Regions from separate parts of the Homo sapiens genome. Here region 2 is linked to region 1. The links are contacts of gene promoters, found by promoter capture Hi-C in human tissues and cell types (Jung and others, 2019). All regions are on one chromosome and are shown on one strand. Each heading gives the region's core, a stretch centred on a gene start or on the middle of the fragment in contact. The rest is flanking DNA. Distances are from core to core; before and after follow the strand shown.

Evidence for each region. The method cuts DNA at HindIII sites, captures the fragments that hold promoters and counts their contacts. A contact is called where the count stands out against the background at its distance.
Region 2: a contact is called between a fragment that was not itself captured here and the fragment with the promoter of API5 in region 1, in 1 of the 25 tissues and cell types used here (spleen).

The regions. Positions count from the first base shown.
Region 1 is chr11:43,308,226-43,315,077 of GRCh38, reverse strand. API5 (apoptosis inhibitor 5) reads right to left here and starts at 3,082. Exons shown (of 14, transcript NM_001142930.2): 1 at 2,882-3,082. The coding sequence starts at 2,950. RefSeq lists an enhancer at 2,554-3,329. The HindIII fragment of the contact is 16,603 bases long and covers 1-6,852 here.
Region 2 is chr11:44,057,604-44,064,416 of GRCh38, reverse strand. ACCSL (1-aminocyclopropane-1-carboxylate synthase homolog (inactive) like) reads right to left here. Exons shown (of 14, transcript NM_001031854.2): 12 at 5,958-6,100; 13 at 5,718-5,871; 14 at 4,440-4,579. The coding sequence ends at 4,497. Among named protein-coding and RNA genes, the nearest start is that of ACCS, 5.3 kb to the left of the region's middle. The HindIII fragment of the contact is 5,915 bases long and covers 1-5,753 here.

The DNA.
Region 1 (6,852 bases), core at 1,833-4,332:
GGAAGTCAAGACTGACAAACTTGAATGCAGTCTCAGAAGTATCCAGACAGGTATTTGCCAGGAAACTTAGTACTGATCATAAATCTCTCATAAGTTGACATGAAAATCAGGCTTTGCTACATCAAGAACATGAACACGGTTTTCTCTCCTTAAAAACAAGTGAAATGGTGTCCTCTCTACTAAGGTGGCTTTTGCCTTTGTTAGTTAAAATTACAAGCAATATCCTAAAACCTACTGTCTTTTTTAGTAAGTGATTTTAGGCATTTTATCTAAAAGGGGAGAAGTATAACCCAACAGAGCAGAATTAGTAGGCATTATCTTCGGTTTTCCTACAATTCACAATATTTGAGCTGCCTGAGCTAACCACTACATCTCATTATGCAGAGATACTGTTTAAATAGTTGCTTGACAGTTGTCAATACAGAACGCATTGATCACCCATAACCTACAGAGAATTGTGTTAAATTTCAGTGTCCAGCCGGGTGTGTGGTACATGGTAGGTGAAATGTACGGAATAAAGCATGGAGTCCTCATTAAAGTGTAGACAAAGGTATCCTTTTTCATTTTTCACAAACTTGTCTCTAAAGTACCCTTACTAAATAAAGAGTAGATTTTTGCTGTGAAAGACATTTTGACCCCTTGGGGAGAACTCTCAATTCAATCTGGTTTTTATAAAGATGACATGAGAAGGAAATGCAAGCAACTCTCAAAATTAGAGTAGGGGATGGACAGCATTATGTATACGGTTTCAAAGGTTTCTTAGAAGGATTCCTGACACAACCACTGTTGTAGCTTTCACCCTATCCCCCTACTGATATGCAACAAAGTCTAACGTAGGTAGAACAATTTGCTACAAAGTTACCCAACTAAGTCACAGATAAATTATACGATTGAGAATATCTTCACTACTAGTTCTTTTTAGGAACAACAAATTCAAACTGATTGACCACACATAGTTTGTATCTTTTTTTTTTTTTAATTTTTTGTTTGAGATGGAGTCTTGCTCTGTTGCCCAGGCTGGAGTGCAGTGGCCCGATATCAGCTCACAGGAACCTCCACCCTCCGGGTTCAAGCAATTGTCCTGCCTCAGCCTCCCAAATAGCTGGGACTTCAGGCGCATGCCACCACGCCTGGCTAATTTTTGTATTTTTAGTAGAGATGGGGGTTCACCATGTTGGCCAGGCTGGTCTCGAACTCCTGATCTCAACTGATCTGCCCATCCACGCCCCTTAAAGAATTGGGATTACAGGCGTGAGCCACCGTGCCTGGCAGTTTTTACCTTCTTAATGAACAGAATATTCCTCCTTCACAACCGACCTACACACTCTATCCACATGTACAGCAGAACATCCGTATACATTTCTTACTGATAAAAGTGAAATTCCCTACTGACAGGGAATGAAGGAAAAAAAATCATTTGCTATTTCAAACTGGTATATTCTTAATTCTAGATTAAGCTACAATAAATCTCCAACATGAAATTTTTTTTTTTTCGTTCAGCTCAGAAAAGTCCTATTTGAATTATGTTAAGAAAAGGGGACGGGAAAGGTACTCCCACGACTGTTAATAGACTAGAATCTTCCACTTTCTCCAAGAAGGGATGCGTAAGCAGAAAAATCACAAAGTTCTAAGCGCTGAAAAGCTATGGTGTGGGATTTCTAAAACAATGATCAAGGTTACCTCCAGGAGAGCCTGGTTCTTTTCCCAAGAACACACATACCCAACCACTTATCAAGTTCAATGTACTCCAGTACTTGAAAACTCATACAGGGAACAAATGACTTGTATGGATAATTCAACACTGCTGAGAAACTGTGTATCGGGGGCAAGCATCGTTAAGAGAGCTCTTCCAGACAACTCCATTCAGAGCTGCGCACTCACACTCTCCTTCGCCCAGCCCTGTTTTATTTTCTTCAAACATGTTTCATTAAAAAGAATAAATTTTTAAAAAAAACCTTTTTTTTTTTTTTTGAGACGGGGTCTTGCTTTGTCTCCCAGGCTGGAGTGCAGTGAAGCGATCTCGGCTCACCGCAACCTCTGCCTCCCGGGTTCAAGCAATCCTCCCACCTCAGCCTCCTGAGTAGCTAGGATTACAAGCGCGTGTCACCACGCCCGGCTAATTTTTGTATTTTTAGTAGAGACAGGGTTTCACCATGTGGGTCAGGCTGGTCTCGAACTCCTGACCTCGTGATCCGCCCGCCTCGGCCTCCCAAAGTGCTCGGATTACAGGCGTGAGCCACCAAGCCGGGCCTCACAATGCCTATCTTTCTTACTACACTCCCTCCTAACTGTACATTCTGGGAGAGCGCGGACCTTTCCATCTGTATCTCCAGCGCTCGGCACTCAAAAAAATGCACTGAATAAATGAAACCGTGAGCTCTCATCAAAGTCTGGACCAAAGAGTCCCTCTTCTGTTTCTCACAAACTTCTGTCTCCTAAACACTCTTCTTCAATTAGTAGCAGAATTTTGCCTCCCCCCCAAAAAAAACACATCTTGACCTCATGAAGAAAACTCCCGATCTAATCTTGGAAGCACTGAGCTCCACCGAAAAGGAGAAAGGCTTAAGAGAATCCTGTAGAGAAAAGCTCCGTGAGAAGAATTAACGTGAGCCTGAACGGGCTGAGTTAGGTTACGCCACGGTGAGAAAAGGCTGGGCAAGGGAGGCAAGGAAGCCTGGAACCCTGGGGACCGCGGTCTCCCTGGTGAAACCAGAGTCTACACTCCCAGAGAGGCCCACCCCGACGAGACGGCCTGAGGAGGCTAGGAGGCCCCGGGAGGATGAAGCCGCAGCCCCCGCTCGGCCCGGGGAGTGCGGCGGGAAGCGCTTTCGAAAGGCCGCGGAGCGCCAGGCCCTGCAGGCCGCCCGGGGACTCAACTCACCTGGCCCACTTGCTCCGTGGCATCGGCCAGGATGCCATAATTGCGGTAAAGCTCCTCTACTGTCGGCATGGTGAGCGACAAGCCCAGGGCCCGGTTCCGCTATCCTTGTCCTGACCGGCGCCACCGCCGCCTCGGAACTTCTCCAAACCCACTACCCGCACTATTACACCTCCAGCTGCCGCCAGTGCAGCCGCCAGTCACCGCGCACAGCGCGGCTGCGCCCCCGACGTCTACGTAAAGACGCGCACGTCGGGAGCGGCCTTCAGTAGACACCCCCCACCCCAATGCGCCTCCGCGGTTTTTGTCGCCCTCTACAGCCTGGAGGAGCAAAAAAGCGGCAAGGATGATTGAATTAGCTCACGCCTTTTTGAAAGCTTGAGCTTGGCTGCAGGCTCTCCATGGAAGGGGTGTGGGTGGGCGGGGAAGTGAATACAAAGACAATTGCGTTTCTGCCCTTAGAAGATCTTACATATGAGAAGTCACAAATGGTTTCCTCCTGATTCAAGGAAGGTAATATTAATCGGTGGCACTAGAGGCTAGTGGGTCCGGTGGGAAGCAAAAAACATTCCTATGCTATTAAAAAACCCTCTGTGTCCACCACGCTCATCAAGTGCGGGGTCAAATTTGGCCTGCTGGAAGAATTTGCTTATCTTTGCTGCCAGTGTAAAGAATTGGGGCCACCTGATTATGTCCAGTATCCAAAAGAATAATAAATAAATGAAATCACGTACGCTTACTGATAAGAATTTCTAAGATACAAGTTTAAATGAAATTATATATATAATATGATATAATATATAATATTTTATATATTATATAATATATAACATTATATATTAATATATAATAATTTTATATATTATATAATATATAATATTATATATTAATATATAATATTATATATTATATAATATATAACATTATATATTAATATATAAATATATAATATATAATATAAATATAATAATATTATATTAATATATAAATATATAATATATAATATAAATATAATAATATTATATTAATATATATTAAGATAATAATATTAATTAATACATTAATTATATAATATAATTATAATATATCTATATATTGAGATATAATATTAATTAATATATCAATATTATCAATTATATATTATAATTATCTTATATTATATATAATATATTAATTATATAATTAATATATTAATATTATTATCTTAATATATATTAATATATTATTATATTTATATATCATATATAATATTATGATATTAATATTATAATATATATTATATATTATATTATATATACAATTATATATATAATATATATTATATATTGTATATTATTATATAATTATATATTAAGATAATAATATATATTAAGATAATAATATATTATATATATTAAGATAATAATATATATTATATATATTAAGATAATAATATATATTTATATATTAAGATAATTATATTTATATAATAATATTATATATATATATAGCCGTGTGCGGTGGCTAACGCCTGTAATCTCAGCACTTTGGAAGGCTGAGTTGGGTGGATCACTTGAGGTCAGGAGTTCAAGATCAGCCTGGTCAACATGGTGAAACCCTGTCTCTACTAAAAATACAAAAATTAGCCAGGCGTGGTGGCATGCACCTGTAGTCCCAGCTGCATGAGAGGCTGAGGCAGAAGAATTATATGCACATAGGAGGCAGAGGTTGCAGTGAGCCCAGATCATGCCACTGCAATCCAGCCTGGGCCACAGAGCAAAACTCTATCTCAAAAAAATTAAAAGAAAAAGAAAAAGAAAAAGAAAAAGAAAAGTTAAAAGGCAGGTATAAGATGATCCCATTATGTAAAACATACAAAGCATACAAAACAAAGTTATGTGTGTATGTGTAAAAGGATGTTAAAGGATGTTAACATTTCAGGATTGAAATATCAAACTATAATAGACTGTAAATTTCAAAGCCACATCCACTTGTACAGAACATACACGGGAAATGATTACAAAAGAACTCCCCGGCTCTTGTACTTCTCAGTTAGATTGAGGATAAATCTCACATCCTAAAAAGGATTAGAGCTGAGCGTGATAGCCAACAGTCCCAGCTATTTGGGAAGCTAAGCGGGGAGAACCACTTGGGCCCAGGAGTTCAAGTCCAGCCTGGGCAACACAGCACGACCCCTGTCTGAAAATAAGAAATCAAGTGTAAAATTCAATGTTAAAAAAAATTGCAGGCCAGGCGCGGTGGCTCACGCCTGTAATCCCAGCACTTTGGGAGGCTGAGGCGGGCGGATCACGAGGTCAGGAGATCAAGACCATCCTGGCTAACACGGTGAAACCCTGTCTCTACTAAAAATACAAAAAATTAGCTGGGTGTGGTGGTGGGCGCCTGTAGTCCCAGCTACTTGGGAGGCTGAGGCAGGAGAATGGCGTGAACCCGGGAGGTGGAGCTTGTAGTGAGCCGAGATTGTGCCACTGCACTCCAGTCTGGGTGACAGAGCAAGACTCTGTCTCAAAAAAAAAAAAAAAAAAAAAATTGCAATTTGGACTCTTGTGGAGAAAAAGAAAAAGAATTAGAGAATAAAATGAGAATTGGTGATTTTTTTATTTTTATGTTTTTGAGAAAGATGTCTTGTGAGTAGGTTGAGGGCAATTTCTACCCCCTTCCCTCAAGCGTGGGGCCATTTTGAGGAGCCTGAAATATGGTCCCAGGTGGTTGAGAAACACAAAGGACTGGACACGCCTGATAAGCTCAGGTTACCCGTGACTGCAGAGTGGAGGTGGCCATGTTGGGATCTACCGTGTTCCCAGATTTTGCTGGAGCGAGGGGATGGGAGTGATTCCCTTATAGCAGAGATGAGCCATATAAAAGAGAAAGAGATTCTGGATTCATTTTGAGTCCTTCTGCCTGAGAGTAAGAAAGCCCCCATGGCGAGAGTCAATGGCGCAGAGAGTGGTGACTGCGAGCAGCACATCAACACCTCACGGGAGTCACCGTTGGGAGTGGCCTCTAAAGGCCCCTTGGAGTGGCCCACAGGACAGACCTGGTCTCTATCAGACCAGAGAGAGCCTGTGGTATTGCACTGTCCAGACCTTTCCGAGGTTCTCCTCTTCCTTTCTTCTCATGTTCCCCTCTCAATGCATTTGCGCAGGAGGGGTCAGAAGCTGCCCACCAAACTGAGTGGAGGATACAGAGAAGAAAGGCAAGATAGGGAGCGGCCTCAGCTGGAGAATAGAAGAAGATCTGATTGGAAATTAAGTTTGGATTCACATGTTGGAATGGACGTTTTAATTTCTGAAGCAGAAAAGGCCTGGGTCTGCCAGAATTTCTCTCTAGGGCTGGAATGAGATGACCCTGCCTGCTATGGTCTGAATGAGTGGGTCTTCCCAGATTCATGTATTGAAACCTACCCCGCAAGATACTATTAAAAGGTGGGGCCTTTGAGAGATGATTATGTCCTGAAGGCTCTGCTCCCACCAATGAGATTAGTGCCCTTATACAAGAGGCTTGAGAGAGCAAGATCCTGCTGGTGCCTTGATCTTGGACTTCCCAGTTTCCAGAACTGAGGCAATAGGTTTCTGTTGTTTATAGATTACCCATTCTAAGGTATTTTGTTGTAGTAGCATAAATGGACTAAGACACCACCTGAATAAATTTTAAAGACGTGGTGGAAGACAGTAAGAAAGCTATATATATACACATGTATATTTATATATATAGACATATATAGCTACATATATACTTTTATTATCTTATATATTTTTATATATATTATAGCTTAATATATATATTTTTTAGACATGGTCTGGCTCTATTGCCCAGGCGGGAATGCAGTGGTGTGATCTCAGCTCACTTCAGCCTCAACCTCCTGAGTTCAAACCATCCTCCCACCTCAGCCTCCCAAGTAGCTGAGACTATAGACACACACCACCACACCTGGCTAATTTTTGTCTTTTTAGTAGAGACAGGGTTTCACCATG
Region 2 (6,813 bases), core at 1,547-4,046, 750 kb before region 1:
AGAATCTCTCAATACAGGTATGGCTGGGAAGACATGGCTGTCTTCTGGCCATTCCACTTCTTGTCTTCACTTTTGCCTTGCACTAGCTAACACTGTGACCTTGAGCAACTCTCATGACTTTTTTGGCCCTTACTGTTTTCTTCTGTAAGATAAGGAAGCGATTATTTTCCTCTATTTAAATCTTAATTCTATGTAATTCACATCTCAGTGAATGCCTGTTATGTGCCAGGTCTCTGTAAAATGCGAGGATACGGTGATGAGCAAGACAAACCAAAGCCTGCATGATTGATTGGGAAGGCCGACTTACAATGTGGGGACTATTTTAAAAAGACTATTTACTGGGTACCATGGAAACATGCAGCAGGGGGATTTAACCCCACGAAACAACAAACACAGGCACTTGTCCTAAGTGGAAGACATACACACACGTTACATTAAATGTGAATTGACTAAAGATCAATTAAAAGATCATCAGACTGGATAAAACAGCAAGAATCAAGCATATGGTGTGTGCAGGAGACACACTTTAAATACAAAAACAAATGGTCAAAGGTAAAAATGTGAAAAAAAACAAGCAAATAATAATCATGAAAAAAGCTGATGTGTTCATATTGGTATCTGATAGTAGGCTTCAAGACAAAAATAATTAACAAAAATAAAATGGGGCATTTTAGAATAAAATGATTAATTTATCAGGGTGACAATCTTAAAAGTTTATGCTCGTAATAACAAAGCTTCAAAATACATGAAGCAGAAACTGACAGAACGAAAAAGAGAAAAGACAAGTTCATAATAATTGGAAAATTTTATACCACTCTCTCGGTGATAGAACAAATGGATCAAAAGACACTAAGGATCAGAACTTTTGGACATTATACAAAAATTTAATCTAATTGACATTTATAGAACACCATCCCCAATACCACAGAATATACTTCTTTTCAAGTGCAAATGAAACATTAAGATAGACCACATGTTGTAAACAAATCTGGCCATAAACTGTCTTAATAAGTTTCAAAGGATTGAAACCATAGAGTACATTCTCTAGTCACAATGAAATTAAAGTAGAAATCATTAACAAAGAAAGCTGAACAGTCCCCAAATATTTGGAAACTAAGTTACATATGCTAAGCAAACCATTGATTTAAAAAAAGAAATCACAAGGGAAATTAGAAAATATTTTGAATGATTAAAAACCAGCAGATCAAAGTTTATGGAATGTAGCTAAAATAATGCTAAGTGAGAAATGAATAGCTTGTAATGCATATATTTGAAACCAACTTAAAACAAATGATCTAAGCTTCCACATTAATAAGCTAGAAAAAAGAGCAAATTAAACCCAAAGTAAATAGAAAGAAATAAAGATAAGAGCAGAAATGAAGGCGAAACGAGAAAAATCAATGAAACTGAAAGTTGGTTCTTTGAAAAGTTCAATACAGTTGATAAACAGTTAGATTGACTGATCAAAAAAACTCATTTTGTTGCAGAATTTTGCTCCTTAGTTCAGCTAAAACCGGGTTCTTGTCACACCACCAGGAAGGATTAGGAACATGGACACATTGAAGGGTGAGGGGAACGGAATTTACTGGGCAAAAAGGAAAAAAGAAAAATACTGTCAGCAGAGCAAGAGGGGGTCCTGCTAACAGGCCTCCAAACTCACATTGAATCCCAGGCCACCACACAGAAATTGAAGAGGCCAGGCTCCTCCCCGCTGAGCATGGCCACAGCTTCCCTTGGCTCCATCTTGTTCTCCCAGTGCACAGATGGGTTGGAGATTCTCCGGAGACCCTCCCCGTAATCCCCCTCCTGCATGTATCAATTTCAGTATCAGGAAAGGAAAAGGAGATACAACTAAAGATCCTAAATGTATTAAAAGGATAACAGAATATTTATAACCAATTTTAAGTCAATAATTAAACTTAGATGAAATAGACAAACTTTATTGAAAGGCACAAATAACCAAATCTGATACAAGAAATAGAAAACTCGAACTGTCACAGAAATTGAATTTATAAGTAAAAGCCGTCCCACAAAAAAAAAAAAAGAAGAAAAAAAAAACCTCCAGGCCCTTATGGTTTTACAGCTGAATTCAACCAAATATTTAAAGGTTGAAGAAGTTTTTGGACACAAACTTCTAGAAAATTCAGGAAGGAACAGTTTCCCAAACATCTATGAAACCAGTATTAATCATGATACTGAAACTAACAATGCATTACAAAAAAAAAAATTATAGAATGATGTCCTTCTTGAATGTAAACTTCTTAAAATAGCAAACCAAACTCAATGGTATATAAAAGGACAATGCATCATGACCAAATGGGGTTTATTGCAGCAATGTGAAGTTGCTTTAACATTAAGAAATCAATGTAACTTACTACATTGATAATCAAGAGAAAAATCATATCTCTATAAATGCAGATGAAAAACATCTAACAACATTGAACCCTCATACATGGTAAAACTCCCAGCAAACTAGTAATAGAAGGACTCTTTATTAGATAAGGGACAGAATGAAAAATACAGTAACGTTATACTCAAGAGCAGAAGATTGCACTCAATGCTACTAAGACTGAGAACAAGGCAGGCTGTCCTCTCAACCACTTTTATTCAACGTTATACTAGAGGTTTTTTAAAAAGAGCTATATCGGTCAGGAGCGGTGGCTCAGCTTGTAATCCCAGCACTTTGGGAGGCCGAGGCAGGCGGATCACTTGAGGTCAGGCGTTTGAGACAAGCCTGGCCAACATGGTAAAACCCTGTCTCTACTAAAGATATAAAAATTAGCTGGGCGAGGTGGCACGTGCCTGTAGTCCCAGCTGCTTGGGAGGCAGAGGCAGGAGAATCGCTGAACCAGCAGCAGAGGTTGCAGTGAGCCGAGATTGTGACACTGCACTCCAACCTGGGCGACAGAGTGAGACTCAGTCTCACAACAACAACAACAACAACAACAAAAACACACACATACACACACACACACAAGAAAACTGACAAGAATAAACAAATTTGGATTCGGAGCAAGTACGGCCACAAACCCAAGCGACTAAAGCCACCAGTTGGTACTGTGAGCTCTTTCTTCATCCATAAAATCGTAGTAGTCCCTTCTCTGCCCACTTCACAGTATCAGTGCTCTGACATGCAAGGGCTTTGCAGAGAAACTGATGGGTGGCTTAATTTGAACAGCTGAAAACATTAGAAATGGAAATGGACAACCCCAGATGCTACGAACTGAATGTGTCCCCCCAACATTCATATTTGAAATCCTAACCCCCAAGGTGATGGTATTAGAAGGTGAGCCCTTTGAAAAGTGATTGGGTCATGAAGGCAGAGGAAGACCTCTCACCTCTTCTGCCACATGAGATGACACTGGGAAGATGGGACCCTCACCAGATGCCAAATCTCCCAGGGCCTTGAACTCGGCCTTTCCAGCCTCCAGAACTGTGAGAAAGATTTGTTTCTAAGCCATCCACTTTGTGATATTTTCATATTATGAAGGGACTAAGACACCAAGCTTGTCAGATTTTTTTTTCTTTTTTGTAGAGACAGGGTCTTACTCTATAACCAGGCTGGAATGCAGTGGCACGATATGGTTCACTGCAGGCTTGGTCTCCTAGATTTAAGCGAGCCTCCCACCTCAGCCTCCTGAATAGCTGGGACTAGAGGCACACATCACCACACCCAGCTAATTTTATTTTTTGTAGAGACAGGGTCTCGGTTGCTCAGGCTGGTCTCAAACACCTGGCCTCAAGCCATTCTCTGGCCTCAGCCTCCCAAAGTGCTGGGATTACAGGCATGAGCCACCGTACCCAGCAAGAGACTTTAAAAGCCTTTTGGGAAGGTAAAAGTGGAACAAACTCTAGTATTTGGAAGCAGGAATACCTGCAATTATACTCCCACCTGCCTCTTAGCAGGTCATGTGGAAGTGGATGTGATTTCATAAGAATCTTATAGAACATTGCATCCAACACCTGGAAAATGGCCCATCAGTTAAGGATGACTTCTTTCTTTTTCTGGCCTGCTCTAGACAGTATTCTTTACATAGAACCTGCCTTAGAATTTAAAAATTAAGGAGGACAGAAAATCATCTGGCTTCCAAAGATGATTATGAAGAATATAAGCAAGAAAATAAGATGGGCCTAGAATTTAAAAGTATAGAATTTATTAGGTACTGAATATAAAAATAAACCATCTAAATAGGGGCCCAGAGAACTCCCTTTATTTCTCTAGGTGTCTCTAGGCCTTTCCACCCCAACCCCGATAAAAACATTTTGCATATATAATGGCTAGCAAAGACTAAAAAGATGGAAAGCTTCCAAAGACAGCAGGCACTCAGCTTAAGGAGGGTGACAACCGGGTAAGATGAGATCTTCCTGGAGGAGCCCACCATTTTCTCCATCGCAACACTGACAAAAAGACACCCTGGCCTTCTGGGCCAGAGGCTGACATTAGGGGGTCCCTGAGCAAGTGATGGGCTGGAACTGCTGGTTGGGAGGCAGACGGCCTACTCCCTCATTGCATCCTCCAACTGCTTCACTATCAAAGCCTCCTTCTGCTCCTGCAGCACATCACAGAACCGACGCATAGCTAGAGGGTTCAAATGGGGACAGAGAGAAATAGTGATTTAGTAGGTTTGCTGGTGGGTCCCAGACATACCCAGGTCATGGTCAACCATAAAAGCCTCTCATTCAGGGATCCTGAACTTCAGCCCTCCCACCTTTGGGATGGATTTCCAAGTCTACATGTTGCATCCCTGATTTCTTTTTGAATATCATTGTTATGTCAGCCTGCGAGACATCTCAATGTCTTGTATCAAAGCCTGTACTCTCGGGCTTATGGCCTTGGCCTAATCAGGATTTCTATTTGCCTCTAGTGTCTCTTCACTCAGCCTATCTTCTATGCTAGCTCAAAAGAATTCTGTAACAAAAACCTTCATGAGAATGAACAATTCACTGCTATATTCCCAGCAGGTAGAACAGCATCTGGCATGTAGTGGAATGCAATAAATAAATGTTCACATGAATGTCCTATTCTCTATAACCTCAGAGGAGAATCTAAACTCTCTAGTATGGCATACAGGGACTTCCATGGTCATCTGCCTATCCATCTCACTTACTAGGCTGCCAGTCCCACAAGGGCAGAGTACTACTTTTTTCGGGTTTTGTTTGTTTGTTTTTGTTTTCTTGAAACAGTCTCACTCTGTCGCCCAGGCTGGAGTGCAGTGGCGCAATCTCAGCTCACTGCAACCTCCACCTCCCAGGTTCAAGCAATTCTCCTGCCTCAGCCCCCCGAGTAGCTGGGATTACAGGCGTGCGCCACCATGCGTGGCTAATTTTTTGTATTTTTAGTAGAGACAGGGTTTTACCATGCTGGCCAGGCTGGTCTGGAACTCCTGACCTCATGATCCACCCACCTCGGCCTCCCAAAGTGCTGGGATTACAGGCATAAGACACCGCACCTGGCCTCAGAGTACTACTTTTTAGCTTGTGGTCCCAATGCCTCACTCAATGGCAGTCACAGAACAGATACCCCAAATGGGTAATGAATGGATAGGTGCTTGAGGTACATATCAGTTCTTGTTTGCAAGAGCACCTAACTAAAGATAGACATGGAAACAGGGAATAAAGGGCTAGATCTATAGGATGTTTAAGGGGGGTGGGGGAGAAGATTGACATATTAAATTGATGGGGCGTCTTTAAAGGATTGGGAGGTCAGCTCCACTCACCCAATTTTAGCCGGGGGAGCTCATCTGCAAAGATGAGGCAGAACCAGCCTGGCTCCTTACACATGTAGGTTTTGCCACGGGATAACAATAGCTTGTTGTCCAGGAAGCGGCAATAGAGGAGCCGTTCTTCTTCAAATGTACAGGGATCCAGGTACTAGGGAGGGCAGAGGAACAGAACTGAGCCCAAGACCCAGCTGGCAGGTCTGCCCAAGAACACCTGTCCTCATTCCCAGAACACACCTTTTTCAAGTTGATCCAGACATAGAGGCCAGAGCTGCGGTTGTGAAAAGGGATCTCCAATGCCTTCAGCTCAGCAGTGATGTACTTGTGAGCTTCCCGGAGCCGGTAGCAATTGGTGGGTAGGTATACTTTGTCAATCCATTCTGGATGGGTAGAGGAAAAACACTGTCACAGATATTACTACAGAAATCTACCGAGAGTTCCTTCCCAAATGCTCCCTTCCTGGGCTTCATGCAAGTTTGTTTGTTTGTTTTTGTTTTGTTTGTCTGTTTTTAAAAAAAACAAAAAAACCAGAGTTTCCCTCTGTCACCCAGGCTGGAGTGCAGTGGCACAATCTCGGCACACTGCAATCTCCACCTCCTTGGCTCAAGTGATTCTCATGTCTCAGCCTTCCAAGTAACTGGCACTACAGGCGTACGCCACCACACCCAGCTTATTTTTGTATTTTTAGTAGAGATGGGGTTTCACCATGTTGGCCAGGCTGGTCTCAAACTCCTGGCCTCAAGTGATCCACCTGCCTCTGCCTCCCAAAGTGCTGGGATTTTAGGTGTTAGCCACTGCACCCTGCAAGCTATTTCTAAGACTAACTCTAGTATGTTTGAGCTGATGGTGTCCACACCTGATACACCCACCTCTTATCTAAGGCTCTGGTAGAGACACTGGGCTTCTCAAAGGTCTAGTAGGAAAGTTCTCTTTGAGTTCACAGCCCTGAGGCAAGGAGTCAATCCCCTAATAGGGGTTGATGCTGTTGTTGTTAACTGGGCAAGCAGCAGGGACTCGCAGCTCCTACCACCCGAATTTGAGCCTCATACAATGGAGTCGGAGGAATATATGTGTGCCTGGGGATGCTCTTGGC